Linked DNA regions of Homo sapiens: region 1 is linked to region 2. The links are contacts of gene promoters, found by promoter capture Hi-C in blood cells and fetal thymus (Javierre and others, 2016). All regions are on one chromosome and are shown on one strand. Each heading gives the region's core, a stretch centred on a gene start or on the middle of the fragment in contact. The rest is flanking DNA. Distances are from core to core; before and after follow the strand shown.

The links. Contacts are between HindIII fragments. The CHiCAGO score rates a contact against its expected background, and 5 or more counts as called.
Region 1: a fragment that was not itself captured here is called in contact with the fragment with the promoter of RHO in region 2 in 2 of 17 cell types (M2 macrophages and M1 macrophages); the score reaches 8.1 in M2 macrophages.

What each region holds. Positions count from the first base shown.
Region 1 is chr3:129,484,391-129,491,902 of GRCh38, forward strand. IFT122 (intraflagellar transport 122) reads left to right here. Exons shown (of 30, transcript NM_052989.3): 16 at 3,867-4,007. Among named protein-coding and RNA genes, the nearest start is that of RHO, 40 kb to the right of the region's middle. RefSeq lists silencers at 5,288-5,496, 5,903-5,972 and an enhancer at 5,896-6,190. The HindIII fragment of the contact is 8,041 bases long and covers 2,233-7,512 here.
Region 2 is chr3:129,523,765-129,530,645 of GRCh38, forward strand. RHO (rhodopsin) reads left to right here and starts at 4,875. Exons shown (of 5, transcript NM_000539.3): 1 at 4,875-5,330. The coding sequence starts at 4,970. RefSeq lists a silencer at 2,428-2,628 and enhancers at 4,826-5,551, 5,552-6,277. The HindIII fragment of the contact is 8,320 bases long and covers 3,306-6,881 here.

The DNA of each region.
Region 1 (7,512 bases), core at 5,003-7,502, 38 kb before region 2:
TCTTAAACATGTTGAAATACATCTGCTTAGCGCTTTTCTACGTGTATATATAATATATGCATAATATACAATTAGGAGCATGTGGTTTTATAAGAACATTTTTAAACAAAAGTGGAATCACACTGCAAATACTTTTCATGACTTTTATGTGTATACGTATTGCTACCTATAGATGGAACCTCAGATTTACTGTATTCCCTGAGCCTGGCCTGTAAACAAGACTTCTCATCCCTTCCTTTATGGCTATCTTCTCATTTCACCTCACATTCGGTTATGGCAGCCCCATCACTGTCTATGAAGTGCTGGCTGTACACTAGTCATCTGGCCTTTTCACTCAACAATCTCCTAAAGCATCGTTCTGTGTCAGTAAATGGTAAATGTTCTTATTCTGCATGGCAAAATTTAGGGTAATTGTAGACTCACATAAATTGTAGGAAATAATACAGAGATCCCTTAAACCCTTTGCCTAGTTTCCCCCAACGGTAACAGTGTGCATAGCTCTAGAGTGATCTTCCCACCCATGTTGGCATGTGTAATCTCCCACCACAGTCATGGCACTGAACACTGCCACCACCACAAGGTCCCTGGTGTTGTGCTTTTTACAGCCAGCACCCCTCCCTCCTGCCTGGTCCCCACCTGCCTTGTATTTACAGCTGCATTTTATTGTGTCTTGTGGATGTTCCACAGCTTTCTTTACCAGTCCTACTGGACATGTTTGCTGCTTATAGCTTTTTTGTATTATTGTAAATAGCAGGCATCTTTCTAGCTAGGTCCTTGCACCTGTCCCAACTTGGCGCCTTGGCATAAATTCCTAGAAATGAAATTGCTGGGTCAAAGCACGTGTACCTTTGAAAGACTTTTAGGGAAATTTCCAGGTTTCCCTTCCGCTAGGCTCTGTCAGTCTGTTTTCCCCATACAACTCAGCTTCAGGCTAGAGCCCACTTCTTCTAAGTTGATGATACCCTCGAAACTCATGACTGCAAGACTTACTGGGGAAATGCCCATCATCCATGCCTGACACAGATCAGCTATTCAAGAAATGTTAGTGGAATTCAGATCTGAGGAAAAAGACCAGAAAGCAAGAGGAAGAAGGGAATGAGGTGGGTGGAAGTGGCAGCAGGACGAGGGGCACGAACAGCTTCTCCTGGACTGTGTCCTCGTCATCCTTGTCTGCCCCATTACAAACCCACGCACCACATCCACCAGGAACTCATCTCCCTCAATTGCCCCAAACTAGCTCTGCTTATTTTATTAAAAGGTTTTCTCCCAAGATTGCCATCCTGACCTCAAAAATAAATGCAGTTTGCTGCTCTCTGACTGTGGCCGGCCAAGAGGAGCCAGAGGGGCAGCCTGGGGCTTCCTCTGCCAGGACTTTAAGATTCAGCAGCAAAGTCTTGCTGACTGCACCAAGGCCATCCTGCTGACGCAGCGGGTCAGGACTGCCAAGGGTTAGGAAACACATTCTCAAGACAAAGGCTGTTCATCTGTCGCCTCTGCCTCCGGCCATCCTGTGGTTTTGGCCCAGAGAGGAGGGAGAAAGCATCAGACCCAGTCTTGGAATTTTTGGTTGCCTTTCGAAATTTACATTGTCTTGTGCAAGAACTGGTTTGTCAGGGCTGCCAAGTAGGACAACGAGCCCTAGGAGGGCTTCTCAAGGCGGTGGTGACTTCATGTTTGAAATCCAACAGCAAGATAAAGTATAGCTCAGAGAGTATTTGTTCAGTGGGGTCTATTTTTAAAACTCCACTCAAATTGTGCCTCCCAAGTAAGTCCAAGTGTTAGCCATCCATCATATGCTCAGCTGTGATATGCCTGCCTGAGTGCCTGTCCCACTCACGGGGCAGTCAGCATGGCAAGCAGTTGGTGTGGTTCGGGGAAGGAGCACCAGCTTTCAGTCCTGACTCTGCCATCTCAAGCAGCTGTAACTAGAGCAACTCATTTCACTCTTTGGGGCCTCATTTCTTTTCTGTGAAATGGGGTTAATTATACCCATCTTTCAGGTTTCGTCAAGCCAAATTTCTATTATTATTTCTCCTTATTACTGACTCATAAAATAGCAAAAACCACAAAACACAACTAAATTGCAACAGGCTGTACTTACTGACGGACTTTAGAAAGGAAAGCTCATTGTGTGCTTTAAGAAAAGCTTTCAGGAGTTTGAGAAAGCTTCCAGGAGATGGTGAAACTTGATCTGAGCCCTGAGAGGTCTGGAAAGGAAGAGTGGAGCAGGGAAGCTTTTCAAACAAAGGGAAAGGTGGGGGTAGGAACAAGACTGGAGAGCCTGGGAGATGGTGAGGAGCTGGTGCTGAGAAAATACAGTGAAGGTAATGATCATGCCTGCATTTTGCCCAGTGCTTCATTATTTTTGGAGCACATCTCTCCTTTGCCCATGGTAGCCTGAGCTGGGCAGGACATCTAAACAGAAGTTAATGGATTTACCCAAAAAGTCACCAGCCTAGGATGTGGCTGAGCCTGGCCTGGGTTCTAGGTCACCTGCTCCGTAGCCTATGCCTGCTGCCCCGCTAAAGGGAGCATTTAATGTGCCAATGAGGAGAGATGGCATGGTGGAAAAGATAAGCACTTGGAAGCAGCCATGTTTTGCTCTGAGAGTAGACAGACTCAAAATAAAAAAAATTCCTTCAATTCTAAAGCTAAAAAATGGGACTGGAAATTTCAAAGACAGACAAAAGCCCCAAATGGAGAAAACAATACTTCAAGCTCCACATTTGGGAACCATTAGCACAGAGGTCCTGGCTGATTTCTCTTCCCTGCCCAGGAAGCCAGGAGAGATGCAGGCCACTGAAGCACACTGGCTGGCCTAAAACAAGGGCAAGGCCTTTCCTTGTTAAAGATGTCATGGCCCAACTCAAGACTCATTCTCAGGCCTGCACGCACATATGCACATATACACGCGTGCATACATGTGGCAGGAAGGGGCACAGAACCTGGAGTCCAGTCACCTCTGGCTATTGCCAGCTATTTGCTGGGACAGGTCATTTGTCCTCTCTGAGTCTCGGTCTCCTGGGCTGTAGCCAGGGAGAAATAATACCTACTGCACAGGACTGTGGGGACAGCCAAAAGCCTTTTATAAACCTAAGAAAGAGAAGTCGTTAGGAACTATTCATGGGCACTCACAGCAAGGCAACCCCATCTTGTAGGAGGGCATCTGTCCCCAGGGCAGGGATCAGGAGAGCTGTTTCCAGAGGCTTCCAGGGTAACTTGGAGCAAATCACTTACCTTTCTTGGACTCAGTCCCTGGAAGAAGAGGCCATTCCAGACCGCTTCCTCCCACGAACTCATTCATTGTGTCAGCAAACGTAGACTGGGGTTCTGCTGAGGGAGGCCGATACAACCCACCACTGCCCACGGCTGTGCACGGCTTTGCTGTGGGAACAGGCCTGTAACTGCGGCACAACCTGCGATCTGGACAAAGGGCAGAGGAAGCTGAGACTCTTTCCCCTGGGGTGGGGGCTTGAGGGGCTTGGGAGGACTCTGCAGAAGAGGTGACATTTCAACAGGGCCTTGAAAGCCAAATAGGTATTTTCCAGAGGCAGAGTGGGGAGGGGCAAAGGCATTCCAGGTGAGGGTGACATCCTATGGCGAGGCAGGCCTGTAGGTGGGAAGGAGGGGAGGATGGGCAGAGAGTTTGTGCTGTGGAGCACAGTAGCCCAGTCATGAGAGAGGTGCAGGATGGAGCACACAGGGTGGGCTGGGCAGGCTGGGCAGGGTGCTGATTGGCGGCTGCAGGGCTGCTCCCCAGGCATGGGTAATCATCCCACGCATCTGGAGGCAGGCTCTGTATGCATCTGGTTCTTTCCATGGCTCTGAAAACAGTCTTCTTTTTTTCCCTTGATGAAATCCTGCAGTCCGCTCCCATGTACCAGTACCTGGATAGGAAACTGTTCAAGGAAGCCTACCAGATTGCTTGCTTGGGTGTCACAGACACTGATTGGCGTGAACTGGCCATGGAAGCGCTAGAAGGTTTAGATTTTGAAACAGCAAAGAAGGTAAGCATCTAGCCAGCAGGAGCTGGAGTTTGGTCCTTGTGGGGTCCCTTAAGAAGGCAGATGGGGACCCAGGTGGCACGGAGAGGCCATAGACTGCAGCAGTCTCTGGAGTTAGGCTGACCTGGGCTTGTATCTTAGCCACTTCCTCACTGTGGGCCTGGGTAGGTGACACCCTTTCTAAGATTGCTTCTCTATAGACGTAGGATGATGACAGGCCCCATCCTCACAAAGCTGTGAGGATCAAATGGGAGGATGCCTGTAAAGCCTGACCCAGGAGCAGCATGTCAGATTCTGGCTGTCACTCTTATTAGCTGTTCTCTGTGGGAAGCACCTGACTAGTAGCCTGGCACATCACAGGCACTCCGTAAATGGCGGCTTTTATTATCGGTGTAGTCACTGGCCATGATGCTGCACACAATGCTGCTTTTCTTAGCATCTGCCAACTAAGGTGGGAGAGATGGTCAAGGTCTCTGATTCTGACAGCAATGTGGGCACTTCCCACGTACCTTCATGGCGGGATTCATGGACTTGATTCGTTGTGTCCTTTCCTGGCCTAGTCTATGAAAGCTAGAGAGATGGCTGAAAACATCTGACCCCTCTCTGCACATAAGGAAAAGCCCAGGTATGTTCCTGAGCTGTGTTTCCATCTAGAACCTCAGATGGAGGAAGGAATGGCTTCCAACCTCCACTCCCCTACCCCTTCCCTCTTTATCTCCCCACAGTCAATTAATGAGCTGCTCATTTTGTCCATATTCCCGGGCTGACATTGAAGGAGTGGCAAAGAGGGACGTGATGCCCGCCTTGGGTTAGATCAAGACTTGTAGGCATGAAGAGAGGAGACTGGACCAGACCAGGACTAAGAAGCCTGGCTGAGAACGAGCTGTGTCACATAAGGGGCTCTGGGACCTCAGGCCAGCCACTTTCCTTGGAGCCCCAGTCCTCCCAGTTCTGAAATGGGGGTGGTGAGAATGCCCGCTGCAGTCATGAGGCTTAACTGAGATGTTGTAAAGGGGAATTTAAATCAGGGATGGTTGTGCAGATGCTAGCCATTACTAAACAAGGGAAGTGATCGTTGTGTAACAATGATCTAGATTATATTTTTAGATGTCCTCAGTGTAGGAAAGTGGAGATGGAGGAGGCTGTAAGAATTCAGAGGAGGGGCCAGGCGCGGTGGCTCACGCCTGTAAATCCTAGCACTTTGGGAGGCCGAGGTGTGCGGATCACAAGGTCAGGAGATCGAGACCATCCTGGCTAACACGGTGAAACCCCGTCTCTACTAAAAATACAAAAAATTAGCCGGGCATGGTGGCAGGCGCCTGTAGTCCCAGCTACTCCGGAGGCTGAGGCAGGAGAATGGCGTGAACCTGGGAGGCGGAGCGTGCAGTGAGCCGAGATGGTGCCACTGCACTCCAGCCTGGGCCATAGAGCAAGACTCTGACTTAAAAAAAAAAAAAAAAAAGAATTCAGAGGAGGGAGGAGGCATCTCTATGGAGGGAGCTTCCCTCTCCTGCCCCACCCAGAAATGCCAGCAGGGAGGGAGACGACAAATCCCTAGAATAGAAAGGATTGTAAAAAGCCACAAGGTTTAATATGAGTGTTTACTGATATTTTTATAAATATATATATTTTTATATATTTGTTTAAATATTGAGACGGGGACTCACTGTGTTGCCCAGGCAGGTCTTGAACTCCTGGGCTCAAGCAGTCTTCTTGCCTCAGCCTCCCAAAGTGCTGGGATTACAGGTATAAACCACCACACCCAGCCAGATTTACTATAGTTGAAAAGTAAGTGTATGTGGTATATATCTATTGTGTACAACATGCTGTTTTGAAAAAGCCACATGATATTGAAGATAGGCTGGATGTTACTATTTCATCTAAATCCCGAGTACCCCACCTCTTTACTCTGTGCCAGGCACTCAGGCTCACCAGCTTGGATATAGTGGTTCCTAGAGATGGACAGCCATCCCCACTAGATGGCAGAGAAGAGCTGCTGAGCTCCCGCCAGACCCTGAGCAGAGCTGCAGGTTCCTCCCTATTCCCAGGCTTCCCTCTGCTGAGCTCATTCAGGGGCCTTGTGACTCTGACCAGGCACCCTGACGCTGCAAAATGTGTCAGGTTGAAGGAACTCGGAAACAGATTTATTAATGGGCAAATCCTAGACACTAGCACAGCTGAGCTACAGCTAGAAAGACCCTTGAGAGGGTGTCAGTAGCAGGCCCCTTTCCACAAAGAAGATGGTTGGAGCCCAGAAGCAGAGAAGTAGGCTCAGAGCGAGGACTCAGACCTCGAATGCTCCTTTCCCTCTTGGCCACTGTGCTGGGCTTTGCAGGGTTGCCCTCTCAAGGCGCTTTAAGGAAACCCAGATCTAGAGGGTGATGTGTAAGACCTACAGCTTGGGACACAGGTAGTCTTAGCCCTGTGTTCCTTGGCCCATGTGATGCCCGCATTGCCCTTTTCTACGAATTCCTCTTCACAAACACTTGTTTGCCAGGTTCTGACTCTGATGCCTCCCTTAACGCTGCCTCCCACCCCTGCTCATGCTCAGACCATTCATCCGTGTTCTCCAGGCATGTGGTTCGTAGTTGGAGAGCTCTTAGCTCTGGGAGGTGTCATGATCTGTTTAATTGACCAGCTTTCCCTGTTAGAATGTGGACCTCTGAATTGTGGAGGGGGACAGGGGCCGAGACATGTTTCTCCCTGGGTCCTCAGTCTCTTGACAGGAAGCCTGGTCCTGTGGGATGAAAAGATAAAGTTGCATTGTGGTCACCTGCAAGGCAGGCCGGGGACTTGCTCATCTCCCGAGGTCTTTTCAGGAGGGAGGATGCCATGCTGCTGAGCAGAGGCTGCAAGTGGTCAGGATTGCTCTGCGTGTTCAGTTCAAAGGGCTCTGGAGCTGCTGCCTCCTCTAGGCACAGGTCAGCCCATTTTGAATGGGGCAATAAATGGTGACAGCAAAGCCACCTGAAAGCAGCCTGACCTGGTGGCTTGTGCTCCTCCAAACCCTGGGCAGAATCTGAAAGCAGCAAAACTAGCTTAGCTAACACCAGTCTGCTTGTTCCTCAGAAACTTCTAGAGGTCCATGAGTTAAAGTCTCTGGCTTTACTGTGAGTTCAAGGCAAGGGCTGCAATTTTAGGGTTTACATAAAGAGTTTGCCTTCCACAGACTTGGTGGGATTCATTCCCTACCCCTCCACCTTCTTCCAGAATCTGTCTTTATACCCTCTCAGCTTTCCCCTCCTCTGCTCCCTCTGTGGTACCAGGGGCTCTGGGTCCCCTGTGTCTGTGGCACCACTGGGTAGGCATAGCTGTCCCCTGCATTCTACCCATGTTGCCAAGATGTATAGGCAGTCTCTCATCAGTCCATGCATCTCATCCTCTCCTGCTGTGATGCTGCGTGACCCCCCAGAGGGTCAGACCGGCTTGTTCTTCTTTGGGTCTAGAGTCTCCCAAGGAGGCACCGCCACAGACTGTGGCATCACGGTTTTGTTTTACCTGATCTCAA
Region 2 (6,881 bases), core at 3,625-6,124:
CCCTGCAAGCTAAGCCCCTAATCCACCGAGGCAAAGGCAAAGCCCCTAGCCGGGCTCCCGAGGGCTGGGACTCGGGTGCCCCAAGATGGCTGCATCCAGCCATCTTGGCTTAGAAAGCCCCCCACATGCCAGCTTGGCCAACACCCACACCATGGGTTTCTCTGGACTGCCCGACACAAGGTGTGGGTGCTGGCCAGGCCTGTGTTCAAATCCCAGCTCTGCAGAGGAACTTTGACCCTGCATACCCCAGATTCCTCAGTGGTCAGTGGGGAGTTAGACCCTCTTCATAGGGGGCAGGAGGAGTTGTTCATTCATTCAACAAATGTTTATTGAACACCTCCTATGGGTTGTGAGCTCAGAGGCAGCGATGAACAGGCCAGGCTGGTCCTGCATTCTAGAAATAGATGGGAAGTCAGTCAATAAGTAGACAAATGAGGCCAGGTGTGGTGGCATGCCTGTAGACCCAGTTACTCGGGATGCTGAGGTAGGAGGATCACTTGAGCCTAGGACAGGAATTCAAGGCTGCAGTAAGCTATGATTGCGCCACTGCACTCCAGCCTGGGCAACAGAGCAAGACTCATCTCTAAAAAACATTTAAAAATTGTTTTAAGAAGACAAATGAGATAGTCGCTGATGGTAATGACTGTGTAAAAACTGAACATGGCTGGGTGTGGTTGCTCACACCTATAATCTCAGCACTTTGGGAGGCTGAGATTACAGCCTCCCAAGTGGCTCCCAAGGCAGGAGGATCACTTGAGCCTGGGAGTTAGAGAACAGCTTGGACAATATAGGGAGAGCCCAACTCTACAAAAATGAAAATAAATTAGCCAGGCATGGTGGCACACACCAATGGTCCCAGCTACTCAGGGGTTGAGGTGGTGGACCGCTTGAGCCCAGGAGGTTGAGGCTGCAGTGAGCCATGATCATGCCGCTGCACTCCAACCTGAGTCACAGAGTGATACCCTGTCTCAAAAAACAATAGGCCAGGTGTGGTGGCTCACGCCTGTAACCCCAGCACTTTGGGAGGCCGAGGCGGATGGATCACTTGAGATCAGGAGTTAGAGACCAGCCTGGCTAACATGGCAAAATCCTGTCTGTACTAAAAATATAAAAATTAGCCAGGCATGGCAGTACATGCCTGTAGTCCTGGTTACTTGGGAGGCTAAGGCAGGAGAATCGCTTGAACCCAGGAAGAGGAGGTTGCAGTGAGCCAAGATCACACCACTGCACTCCAGCTTGGGTGACAGAGTGAGACCCTGTCTCAAAACAGCTAAACCTGGTGGGGGTGCCTGGTGTGTAGGATGGTCAGGGGTGGTCTCTCCAAGGACATGAGTGTGAGCGGAGACCTGAAGGAGACTCAGGAAGAGATTAATACTGTCAGCAACAAATATATTGATCACTTACAAGCACTCCCAATAATCCTATTAGGTAGGCACTATTATCATTCCCATTTTACAGAGTGGAGAACCGAAGCACACTCTCGGGAGGGCGGGGTAGCTGGCTGCACCCAGGCTGTGTAGCCTCAGTCCAGATGTAAGGGTGGGTGGAAAAGAGCCTTGCCCAATGAGGGAGAACAGTGAAACCAAGGCCATAGGGTCTAAAGATTCACGAACCAGGCTCTCATGGAGAAAGCAGGTGAGGTTTACTGTATAGATGGGTGTGCCCCTACCCCACACTGAGGCTTCCTCGTCTGAGCAAACTGAGGCCCAGAGAGGGGAAGGAAGCAGGACTACCATGGTGACTCAAAGACCAGCTAGAATCCAGCCTCCTCTCCTCGAGGCTTCCACTGCCCCACGCCAGGCCTGTGTGACTCAGTCTAGGGCCTTTCCATTACCCCAGCTAAACCTTTCTTTAGTCATTTATACCATGGTGTGAATGGCTGGCTGGTCTTTCCTGAGAGCTATCTTTGATGAGGGGAGGGAGGCATAGCCAGGTTTGGGAAGCTGATACCCCAGGAAGCCCAGTTGACTGTGTGGGTTATAGCCCAGGCTGTCACTGATTTGTAACGGGACCTGAGCAACTCTGCAGAGCTAGGCCTCAGTCTTTTCATCTGCAAAATGGATATAGCAGAGATGGTCAGAGTAGGTGACTTCGAATGACCCTTCCAGCTCACTATGAGTCTGTTTTCCTGAACAAAGAGCATTTTTTGTTTAAAAAAAAATTTCTTGGGCCGGACACGGTGGTTCACTCCTATAATCCTGGCACTTTGGGAGGCCGAGGAGGGTGGATCGCTTGAGCCAGGAGTTCAGGACCAGCCTGGGCAACATAGCGAGACTCCACCCCTACAAAAAATACAAAAACTAGTGGTGTGCACTTGTGGTCCCAGCTACTCAGGAGGCTGAGGTGAGAGGATCGCTTGAGCCCAGGAGGCAGAGGCTACAGTGAGCTATGATTGTGGCACTGCACTCCAGCCTGGGCGACAGAGACCTTGTCTCAAAACTTTTTTTTTCTTCGTCAAGCTTTACAGAATAAAGAGCACTGTCACCTCAGTGATGGCTGTTAGTTCCCCATCACCAGGGCTCCATGAGGTTGCAATTGTGAAACTCACAAAGGAGGAACCTGAGACAGAGAGGGGAAGTACTGAGATCATCTAGGTCCATTCCCCCACTCACTCGTTCATTCAACAAATATTCAGGAGCACCTTCTAGGTGCCAGGCCCTGGAGACACATCAGTGAACAAAACAGACATCATCCCACCTCTTTCCACTACAGGCCAAGCACCATGCTGGTCTCTGGGAACCCTGTTGTGAGCAAGACAGACCCAGGCTTACCCTTGTGGACTCATGTTACAGGCAGGGAGACGGGCACAAAACACAAATAAAAAGCTTCCATGCTGTCAGAAGCACTATGCAAAAAGCAAGATGCTGAGGTACTGCTAAGCTGTGTGGGATGGGGGCTCAGCCCGGCCAGGGAGGGGCCAGTTGTGGGTCAGTCTTGACCCAAGGCATCCAGGACACCCTCCTTCTGGCCATGAGGGTCCACGTCAGAATCAAACCCTCACCTTAACCTCATTAGCGTTGGGCATAATCACCAGGCCAAGCGCCTTAAACTACGAGAGGCCCCATCCCACCCGCCCTGCCTTAGCCCTGCCACGTGTGCCAAACGCTGTTAGACCCAACACCACCCAGGCCAGGTAGGGGGCTGGAGCCCAGGTGGGCTGCAGGGAAGGGGGCACTCTTCTGAGCAGACAGATCTGGGAATCCTGGGTGGGAAGAGAGACAGTGAGAGAGAGATTAAGGGATATTTCCCAGGCATCAGGGCTTTGCACTCTCAGGGGTCCTTCCGCCTGGATGTCCTTCCCCTGAAGCTTCCTCCTGTTGTTCCGTTCTCAGCTCAAGCTCCAGCTTCTCAGAGAAGCCTCCTGTGTTGGGAGTGGCTGCGACTGAACTGTCCCTACTGTTATTCGCTCTTCTATTTGTTTGTGGTCCCTGTGCCCCCTCACCCCACAAAAACACTGGCTTCTTGTGAGCAGGAGCTTGCTCTTTCGTGTACCCTGTGTGTCCCCAAGGACCAAGCACCTTGTCTGGGCCACAGTAGGTGCTCAATACACATGTTGGCTGGACAGTGGTCACTGAGCGGCCGCACGTCGGGCACTCTCAGCACTTGCACAGGCCGCCCCAGACACCCCACTTCATTCCTGGGAGGTGTCATCATGTTGCTTGGACGACGGGGAGAGGGGGACCTGCCAGTGTTGGCCTCCATTTTCCCCCAGTCATCTGCCCCCAAGGCTCTGACTACTTTCTTTCTCACGGTACATCCTGCTATTCTGGAATCGGCCCTCGTGGGGCCACCTGGTACATGGCATTTGAGGCCCTCGTGGCTGATTAGGCCTCCCCCAACAGTGCCCTGTCTGCTGCCTCCAGGGCCAGCCTCCCCTTCAGACTGGAGTCCCCTGAAGGGTTCTGCCCCTCCCCTGCTCTGGTAGCCCCCTCCATCCTCCCTCCCTCCACTCCATCTTTGGGGGCATTTGAGTCACCTTTCTACACCAGTGATCTGCCCAAGCCACTGCTCACTTTCCTCTGGATAAAGCCAGGTTCCCCGGCCTAGCGTTCAAGACCCATTACAACTGCCCCCAGCCCAGATCTTCCCCACCTAGCCACCTGGCAAACTGCTCCTTCTCTCAAAGGCCCAAACATGGCCTCCCAGACTGCAACCCCCAGGCAGTCAGGCCCTGTCTCCACAACCTCACAGCCACCCTGGACGGAATCTGCTTCTTCCCACATTTGAGTCCTCCTCAGCCCCTGAGCTCCTCTGGGCAGGGCTGTTTCTTTCCATCTTTGTATTCCCAGGGGCCTGCAAATAAATGTTTAATGAACGAACAAGAGAGTGAATTCCAATTCCATGCAACAAGGATTGGGCTCCTGGGCCCTAGGCTATGTGTCTGGCACCAGAAACGGAAGCTGCAGGTTGCAGCCCCTGCCCTCATGGAGCTCCTCCTGTCAGAGGAGTGTGGGGACTGGATGACTCCAGAGGTAACTTGTGGGGGAACGAACAGGTAAGGGGCTGTGTGACGAGATGAGAGACTGGGAGAATAAACCAGAAAGTCTCTAGCTGTCCAGAGGACATAGCACAGAGGCCCATGGTCCCTATTTCAAACCCAGGCCACCAGACTGAGCTGGGACCTTGGGACAGACAAGTCATGCAGAAGTTAGGGGACCTTCTCCTCCCTTTTCCTGGATCCTGAGTACCTCTCCTCCCTGACCTCAGGCTTCCTCCTAGTGTCACCTTGGCCCCTCTTAGAAGCCAATTAGGCCCTCAGTTTCTGCAGCGGGGATTAATATGATTATGAACACCCCCAATCTCCCAGATGCTGATTCAGCCAGGAGCTTAGGAGGGGGAGGTCACTTTATAAGGGTCTGGGGGGGTCAGAACCCAGAGTCATCCAGCTGGAGCCCTGAGTGGCTGAGCTCAGGCCTTCGCAGCATTCTTGGGTGGGAGCAGCCACGGGTCAGCCACAAGGGCCACAGCCATGAATGGCACAGAAGGCCCTAACTTCTACGTGCCCTTCTCCAATGCGACGGGTGTGGTACGCAGCCCCTTCGAGTACCCACAGTACTACCTGGCTGAGCCATGGCAGTTCTCCATGCTGGCCGCCTACATGTTTCTGCTGATCGTGCTGGGCTTCCCCATCAACTTCCTCACGCTCTACGTCACCGTCCAGCACAAGAAGCTGCGCACGCCTCTCAACTACATCCTGCTCAACCTAGCCGTGGCTGACCTCTTCATGGTCCTAGGTGGCTTCACCAGCACCCTCTACACCTCTCTGCATGGATACTTCGTCTTCGGGCCCACAGGATGCAATTTGGAGGGCTTCTTTGCCACCCTGGGCGGTATGAGCCGGGTGTGGGTGGGGTGTGCAGGAGCCCGGGAGCATGGAGGGGTCTGGGAGAGTCCCGGGCTTGGCGGTGGTGGCTGAGAGGCCTTCTCCCTTCTCCTGTCCTGTCAATGTTATCCAAAGCCCTCATATATTCAGTCAACAAACACCATTCATGGTGATAGCCGGGCTGCTGTTTGTGCAGGGCTGGCACTGAACACTGCCTTGATCTTATTTGGAGCAATATGCGCTTGTCTAATTTCACAGCAAGAAAACTGAGCTGAGGCTCAAAGAAGTCAAGCGCCCTGCTGGGGCGTCACACAGGGACGGGTGCAGAGTTGAGTTGGAAGCCCGCATCTATCTCGGGCCATGTTTGCAGCACCAAGCCTCTGTTTCCCTTGGAGCAGCTGTGCTGAGTCAGACCCAGGCTGGGCACTGAGGGAGAGCTGGGCAAGCCAGACCCCTCCTCTCTGGGGGCCCAAGCTCAGGGTGGGAAGTGGATTTTCCATTCTCCAGTCATTGGGTCTTCCCTGTGCTGGGCAATGGGCTCGGTCCCCTCTGGCATCCTCTGCCTCCCCTCTCAGCCCCTGTCCTCAGGTGCCCCTCCAGCCTCCCTGCCGCGTTCCAAGTCTCCTGGTGTTGAGAACCGCAAGCAGCCGCTCTGAAGCAGTTCCTTTTTGCTTTAGAATAATGTCTTGCATTTAACAGGAAAACAGATGGGGTGCTGCAGGGATAACAGATCCCACTTAACAGAGAGGAAAACTGAGGCAGGGAGAGGGGAAGAGACTCATTTAGGGATGTGGCCAGGCAGCAACAAGAGCCTAGGTCTCCTGGCTGTGATCCAGGAATATCTCTGCTGAGATGCAGGAGGAGACGCTAGAAGCAGCCATTGCAAAGCTGGGTGACGGGGAGAGCTTACCGCCAGCCACAAGCGTCTCTCTGCCAGCCTTGCCCTGTCTCCCCCATGTCCAGGCTGCTGCCTCGGTCCCATTCTCAGGGAATCTCTGGCCATTGTTGGGTGTTTGTTGCATTCAATAATCACAGATCACTCAGTTCTGGCCAGAAGGTGGGTGTGCCACTTACGGGTGGTTGTTCTCTGCAGGGTCAGTCCCAGTTTACAAATATTGTCCCTTTCACTGTTAGGAATGTCCCAGTTTGGTTGATTAACTATATGGCCACTCTCCCTATGGAACTTCATGGGGTGGTGAGCAGGACAGATGTCTGAATTCCATCATTTCCTTCTTCTTCCTCTGGGCAAAACATTGCACATTGCTTCATGGCTCCTAGGAGAGGCCCCCACATGTCCGGGTTATTTCATTTCCCGAGAAGGGAGAGGGAGGAAGGACTGCCAATTCTGGGTTTCCACCACCTCTGCATTCCTTCCCAACAAGGAACTCTGCCCCACATTAGGATGCATTCTTCTGCTAAACACACACACACACACACACACACACAACACACACACACACACACACACACACACACACACAAAACTCCCTACCGGGTTCCCAGTTCAATCCTGACCCCCTGATCTGATTCGTGTCCCTTATGGGCCCAGAGCGCTAAG